2 separate regions of the Homo sapiens genome follow, and region 2 is linked to region 1. The links are contacts of gene promoters, found by promoter capture Hi-C in human tissues and cell types (Jung and others, 2019). All regions are on one chromosome and are shown on one strand. The core of a region is centred on a gene start or on the middle of the fragment in contact, and the rest is flanking DNA. Distances in the headings are between cores, read along the strand shown. Region 1 holds the start of SNRNP40 (small nuclear ribonucleoprotein U5 subunit 40). Region 2 overlaps PUM1 (pumilio RNA binding family member 1).

The links. The method cuts DNA at HindIII sites, captures the fragments that hold promoters and counts their contacts. A contact is called where the count stands out against the background at its distance.
Region 2: a fragment that was not itself captured here is called in contact with the fragment with the promoter of SNRNP40 in region 1 in 1 of the 25 tissues and cell types used here (adrenal gland).

Annotation. Positions count from the first base shown.
Region 1 is chr1:31,295,314-31,299,044 of GRCh38, forward strand. SNRNP40 (small nuclear ribonucleoprotein U5 subunit 40) reads right to left here and starts at 1,475. Exons shown (of 10, transcript NM_004814.3): 1 at 1,298-1,475. The coding sequence starts at 1,438. It overlaps ZCCHC17 (zinc finger CCHC-type containing 17), which reads left to right and starts at 1,719. Exons shown (of 8, transcript NM_016505.4): 1 at 1,719-1,762. RefSeq lists an enhancer at 1,244-1,453. The HindIII fragment of the contact is 16,238 bases long and covers 1-3,731 here.
Region 2 is chr1:31,001,782-31,005,470 of GRCh38, forward strand. All of the region lies in intron 5 of PUM1 (pumilio RNA binding family member 1), which reads right to left. Among named protein-coding and RNA genes, the nearest start is that of SNORD103C, 35 kb to the left of the region's middle. The HindIII fragment of the contact is 7,138 bases long and covers 1-3,689 here.

The DNA.
Region 1 (3,731 bases), core at 225-2,724:
TGGTCAACACAGAGAGATTGTCTAAAAACAAAAAAACAAAAAAAGAGAGAGAGAGAAGCAATGTGGGTTCCACAGTATGTGGTACTGCAATTTAAAATAGGGTGGTCAGGAAAATCCTCACTGAAAAAATTACATTTGGGCAAATATTCGCAGGAGCTGAATAGTAAACCATGTAAACATTTGTGAAGAGCAATCCCACAGAGAGGACAGCAAATGCAAAGGTCCTGAAGCAGAGGCTTGGAAGAGAGAGTAACTGAAGCCAGGTGAGCAATAAGAAATTGGTCAGAGAGGTAAAGGGAAAGAGGGCAAATAATTACAAGAATTTTGGTTTTTACTCTGGATGAAGTACAAAGCCACCAGAAAGTTTTCTGCAGAGTGTAATGTGATCTGATGTTTAGAAGGATTCCTTTGGTTATTGGCTTGGTAACAGGTGCTGATACAAAGGTAGAAAGTGGAAGACCAGTTAGGGTCCCACTACAAAAATGCCAGATGAGATAATAATGGCTTAGGCCATGAGGCAATGATGGAGATGGTAGAAGTAGCAATTCTAGACCTATTTTGAGGACGGTGCCAGCAGGATTTATTGAGGAGATGTGAGGACACTCGTATTTCCTCGTCTGAGCCTAAACAGGACATTAGAAGTGTGATCACTATTTCTATCTTACAAAAAATGTAGTTAGGAGCATGGTTTCTCAGTTCGAAATCTGCTTCTATCACGTACTTGGTAAGTCTGTTTTTCCATCTGCAAAATGGGTTAATAACGTTCCTAACAGGCTGCTACCAAGATCAATGGAAATTTCATATACGAAACACTTTAGTACAAGAGTCAATGAATGTTAGCTGCTATTTAGTTGTTAATAATACTAGTGCAGAGAAATAAAGGGAAAAGCAACTTGCCCAAAGTCCCAAAACGAGCCAACACAAATCATTTCCCTTTTTTCTTCCCTCCCTCATTCATTCATTCTACACACTCTTCGGAATTTTTGTTCTATGCCAGATCCATGTTAGAGTCAGGATGCTTAAACCCGGGTCAGGGTTTTGAGCCCAAGGTCCTCAACTCTAATTCTAATGCTATCTCAGGGCAGTCGAGAGGCTGAAAACGGGCGCCAAACGGGGGAACACGTACGCAGCATTCGCAGGCTATGGGGAGCTTTTACAGTGTTTATGTGCTTTAACTCTGCGTAGAAACTCTCGTTCTGCCCCCGCAATGCGGGAAAGGGTCAGGGATCACCAGATACAGCGCTCTGAGGGGAGGAAGATGAGCTGAGGGCCAAAGGCCGCCTGCTTCTTCACTTACCGCTTGCAGCAAGGCTCCCGGCGTCGCCTGCTGCTGCCCGGCTCCTGGGCCAGACCCCGCTCCCAACAGCAACTCATGCCGCTGCCGCTTGACTGGAACCAGCGGCAACTCTGGGCCCTTACGCTTCTGCTGTTCTATCATGGCGGCAACCGGTCTCTTCAGCGCCGCCACTGACCGCGCTGCCGCTCTCAGGCGCCACGCAATTGGTTCCAAATTAGTCCTTCCTCCACAACTTCCAGCTTGGAAGAACCAATCGGCTTTCAATATTTCCATTTGCACCGCCCTCGGATAGTCTCTTGTTATTGGGCATATCTTTCTGACGTCATGAGAGTGCGATACCAGGATTGGTGGACGGAGCTGGCGACCGCCCTAGGCGCGCTGGGTCTTGTGGGTGGAAACGCGCTGGCTGACTGGGGTCGGCGTTTAGTTCAGCGCAGCGACTCGGGGACCTGGAGCTGACGCCTAGTACGTATGAGGAAGAACGGGGTGGGTGGCTGCCTGAGTCTGGAGGCGACGCCTCGGTTGTGCAGTCTGAACCTGCCCTTCTCAGCTGAGGGTGCTGACAGCAAGGGGTGGGAGGCGGGCCCCGAGTCCCCAGCTGTGGTAAGTAGTAGCCTGGGCTCCCTTTCGGGGCAGGAGCGGAGCCTTGGGGTCTCTGGCGGCAAGACCCAGCCCCTGCGGCTCCCTTCTTCAAGAGCGCCCATCGTGGCCAGTCCTGTGCCGGGCATTCCCAGGGAGAAAGGCCTGCGTCCCAGCCTCCTCCGGTGCCCCATTTGGCCGAGGAGGCTGACTTGTTTCTGCCACTGATTTTGCAGTTTTTGATCAGGGCCTACTGTATGCCCCCCTGAGAGAGACAGTGATGAAGGAAATGTCCGACTCCTTCTCCAGAGCACAGTCTTGTTGAGAAATTTGAGACTCATGCCCATGAACGTGGTCATTGCCTCAGTCGTCCTGCTGATATTCATTTAGCAGCGCGTTGGGGGTATGTTGTGAACCGGGCACGGTCCCTACTCTCAGGGCGTTTAACTCTGGTGGGGAAAACGTTAAACAATGACCTCACTAATACATGGAAATGCCTCCTACTGCTGCCTGATGCTATGAGTGCCTGAAATAAGCAGGAAGGTTTTTCAGAGGAAAAGATGCCTGCGCTGGTAGCTGCAGGAAGTGTTGTAATTAATTAGGTGAAGAAGTGAAGGCAGAACCTTCCATAGAGAACTACTTGTTCAGAGCCCTGAGGCACTTGGGAGGAAAATGACTAAAAGCACAAAGAGCCAGTGTGGCTGGTACAAAGAGAATGAAGGGAGTATGGTACAAGATGAAGCTGTACGTGATAGCGGTCAGACCTTGCAGGAATTTGTAGCTTTTATTTTAAAACGGATGAGATACCACTGAGCCGTCTTCCCCCAGTGGGGTGTGGTGGAGGAGGGGACTTGATCCCTCAGGCTCAGTGGTGTGAACAGACGGGGGTTGGGGAAGCCCTAGTCGATGTATGTGGACCACTTGGGATATGCAGTAATCCTGGTCAGAGATGTCAGTGAGGACTGAGATATGGGTGGAACTGCAGAGAATTGGACAGATTCTAGAGGTATATAGGAGGTAAAATGGGTGGGACTTGGTGATGGGTTGATTTTAGGGAGTGAAGAGAGGAATCAAAGGTAACTCCTAGGTTTCTGGCTTATGTAGTTGAATAGATGGTGGTACCATTCACTCACTATCACGGAATCCCTCAAGCTGGATAGGGAACACTAGAAGATGATTAGAGACCAGTTTTTTTTTGTTTTTTTTTTTTTTTTGAGACAGGTTCTTGCTCTGTCGCCCAGGCTGGAGTGTGGTGGTGCAACCTTGGCTCACTGCAACCTCCACCTCCCAGGTTCAAGCAATTCTCCTGCCTTAGCCTCCCCAGTAGCTGGGATTACAGGCGCCTCCACTGTGCCCGGCCAATTTTTGTATTTTTGGTGGAGATGGGGTTCCACCATATTGGCCAGGCTGGTCTCCAACTCCTGGCCTCAAGTGATCCACCTGCCTCAGCCTCCCAAAATTCTGGGATTACAGGCCTGAGCCACTGCTCCCAGCTGAGATCAGTTTTTATTGATTGATTGATTGATTGTGTGGGGTCATTCATGACATCCAAGAGGCAGTTTGAAATACAGCTTTGTGCTCAGAAGAGAGATTTGTGTTGGGAATATAAAATTGGGCATAATTTGTATATACATGAATTGAGCCATAGGTGTGGGTAAGGTCAGCTAAGTCAGAACCTTGACTAGTTCCAACATTTAATGGTGAAGAACAGGTGAACCTACAGGAGATACAGAAGAAAGGAAGGAGGACTGGAAGAATGTCTCAGAAGCAAAAGAATGATTTGTGATAGAAATTTCTAGAATTTAAATAACATGAAGATTGAAAAACATATTTTGGCTTTTATCATCATGGAGGT
Region 2 (3,689 bases), core at 915-3,414, 290 kb before region 1:
TACTATGTTTTTTCCCCTAGGAAACTTTTAAGGCTCTAATCATTAGACTCTTTGTCCAGCTGAGTTTTCTGAGATAACGCGTATGATAGCAGTGCTTATCAAACTTTAATGTGCATACAAATCATCTGGGTAGTCTTGTCAAAATGCAGATTTTGATTCATTCGCTCTCAGGTATGATCTGAGATTCTGCGTTTCTGATAAGCTCCCAGGTGATGCTAATGCTGTCGGCCCACTGACTTTGGTAGTAAGACTTCTAATGTTTACAAAGCATTTTCACATATGCTACACAGCCGTATGAATTAGACTTTGTTGAGTTTTGATTATTCTCATTTTGCAGATGAATTAAGGTCCATTTGAAACTCAAACCCCTGATTTCTATCTGCATTACATTGTACAGAAGTTTTCAAACAAAACCTATGAAAGTTAAGTAGCACTGGTTACCTAAAGTAAATGCAGTGAAACCTAGACAAACAAGTTTCACGGCCCAAATAGATGTATACTACGAATGTGTATACATCCTCCAGATCAAAAAGCAGATACTCTCTACAGAACAAACAGAAAGACCTTCCCAATATATTTTTTCTAAAAATCTTTCTTCTGTGAGGTTAAGGTGGTCATTACCCTAATCAAAGTTTAGAGTGATCTTCTCATTTCCCTGGGCACCATAAACCAGCAAGGTAGAAATCATGATCCATTTTTTGGCTGGCTAGGCTTCCACCTATTTGAAAAAGATCAGCTGGTATTCCAGAGAGCAGGGTCCTTAGATGGCAATCTCACCCATGGGCCTCAAAAATAAAATAATTACATCTGATTTTGTAACCACCCTGAACCATGGGGGGCTGTGGGGTGAGCACCTGTTCTACTCCAAGAATAAATAAAGGATACAAAAGAAAAGAAAAATAAAAGACTTGATTGATATTTTTGAGCTCTATTATTCTGAAAGCTGCTCTCCTAAAGTTTGAGATTCCTATGTGGAATACTACCAAAAATTTACAGTGAATGCTCAGAACAAAATATGGTTGCCAGATTCTTCTTGTTAGCCAGAATGTATTCTTATCACAGAAGCCAAAACCACTAAACTGAGACCATTTGTACAATCAAAATGAATTCAAGCTAGACAAAGAGCTAAACAGCTTCAATCTAGCCATAACCAGCAAAGTTCACTGAAAATGGTAAAACACTACATAGAGATTTATTTTAGTTCTAAACACCTTTACCTGAAAAGTTAAAGTCTCAATTATCTGTTGTCAGTGTGTTAAGAATAACTTCTTAGTTACTTGCTTTGAGGTCTACAATCACTATACCATCAGAGATGATGCTTTCAGCTCTCAGGATTAAAGTGAGGCTTACTGGAATTAATGTTGATACAGCTACCCCAAAAGTAAAAATACGTGGATGCCCTGACCCCATACACTACCAAGTACCACTCCTCCTTTAGAACAATTATCTACAAGAAGCAGAAATCCTATCTTCCTGGTTCTCTGAATTCAACACTTTAAATGACAGACTAGACTTTAAAAGAAAAGGCTCACTTTCCTCAAGAAGATGTATGCATACTATGACAAAAATAAAGTGATTCAGGCTTCCACAAAAAGAGCTTTGGTCAGGTGTCATCCTGACCAACAGGCAGAGCAAAGTCAGGTTAGGTATAAAATCAAGAGGATACAACCACAAAGCTGATAATCAGTTCACTGGCCGGGCGCGGTGGCTCACGCTTGTAATCCCAGCACTTTGGGAGGCTGAGGTGGGAAGATCACCTGAGGTCAGGAGTTTGAGACCAGCCTGGCCAACATGGGGAAACCGGATCTCTACTAAAAATACAAAAATTACCCGGGCATGGTGGCAGGCATCTGTAATCTCAGCTACTCAGGAGGCTAAGGCAGGAGAATCGTTTGAACCCTGGAAGTGGAGGTTGCGATGAGCCAAGATCATGCCATTGCACTCCAGTCTGGGCGACAAGAGTGAAACTCCACCTCAATAATAATAACAATAATAATCAGTTCACTGAGCCACAGGTCTCCATCCACCAGAAGACTGTATATGCCAACAAGTGGCTTGATGTCACTAGATCAGTCCTCTTGTATCACTCTATAGATGCAATCTAAGTCAAACTATGGGATAATATTCCATTACCCACAATCTTCCTTCTAAAAGAAGCTGGAACACAGATTTGGAGAATTTTCATTTATCTTCATGCATACTTCAGAATTTTCATTTATCTTTATGCATACCTCAGCAGCTCAGTAAATTATCTTGATGGTTAAAGTCCAATCTTCTGGCCCCATCTATCTAGCCTGAAGTCTTAACCTCCTCTGTCACGATTCTTTTGTAAAAGAGGTAAATCACCAGTCTCCCAAGACAAATGATACAGCTTTTGTCATCAAAATAACCGTCTAGTGAGATGACTGTTTAAAGAGAGAAAAATAAGTGGCAAAATGATTCAATCCCACCATGTATCTTCCTCCTAATTCCAACTATTTTTCTGCCTCCTACAAGCTTCACAGTAATGCAGGCACATGCCTCCTGGTTAGTGCCCAAGAATTAGAAACTGATCACACACATGACAGAGAATTCACAGCTAGAGTCACAGGTTCCAGTTCACCACACTAGCAACCTACTGATGCACAACACTAATTTCTGCTGAGGAATCTGTGCTCATAAGATGAGGAAAGAGTGAGGACAGAAAAAGAGGTGAGCTGGGGATAGGGTGAAGAAAGAGAAGTAACTCACATCCAAAGGGTAGATCTTGTTCTTCCCAAGCAGCCCCTTGGGAAGGTTCAAATAACAGGAGCCATCTCCTATCTGATTCACAAGCTACTAAACCTGACCTAGGTCTCTGCAGGGTCAAAACACTGAAAAGCAATCAGGTCAGCTTTAGAATAGCTAGTACTTAAGAACTGTACTTGACACTTGAGAAAGCTGCACCAAAAATGAACTACTGTTACTCTAACAAAATTTAATGTGGAATAGGGAAAATAGGACCAAGCCTCTGATACCCAGCAAAAGATGTATAACACTAAGAAATACTGAGCAACAAATGCTATTAAAGAAAGACAGTTATAATATTAATTCTCAATTTGTGGGAAAGAAGGTGCTTCTGCTGTTCTTTCCCACAAATTACATTAAAATCTTTTAAATGACTGTTTTCAGGTGATATCAGCCCAAAATGACTGCAGGGAGAAATGTCTTTGAAAAAGTACAAAACAAGTTTAGACAGGAGAAAGGGAGGGAAGAAGATTCATGTGCCTCTCATGGCCTTCCTGTCTGTGACCTGGAATATGACAACAGTCGCAGAATTCAAAATGAGGAAGACTCAAATGGAAATACATCTTAACACTTCTCGATCTAGAAAGTTAATGATAAAGAAAGAAATTGTTTTGAGAAAGGCTATCACAGATGCTCATAGAAAAATGCTTAAGACTTAAAAAGAAAAAGGCTATAGACACAGAGACTTATTTGACTTCAGTTTAGCATCAGAGAGGTCAGTGATAATGAATCAAAAAAATTTGTAAGAAAGAATTAACAGAATCCCTAATTTCTTGACAGGCCAGGTGTGAGAAACAAAGCCGTTCAAGGAGGGCCAAAGAGGATTCTATAATTAAATCGTAGCTAACAAAACAAGAATAGCCCTATAATCTGATCTATATTAAGGTTTCTCGGGTATTGGCAAATCACTGCTCTCAAATCTG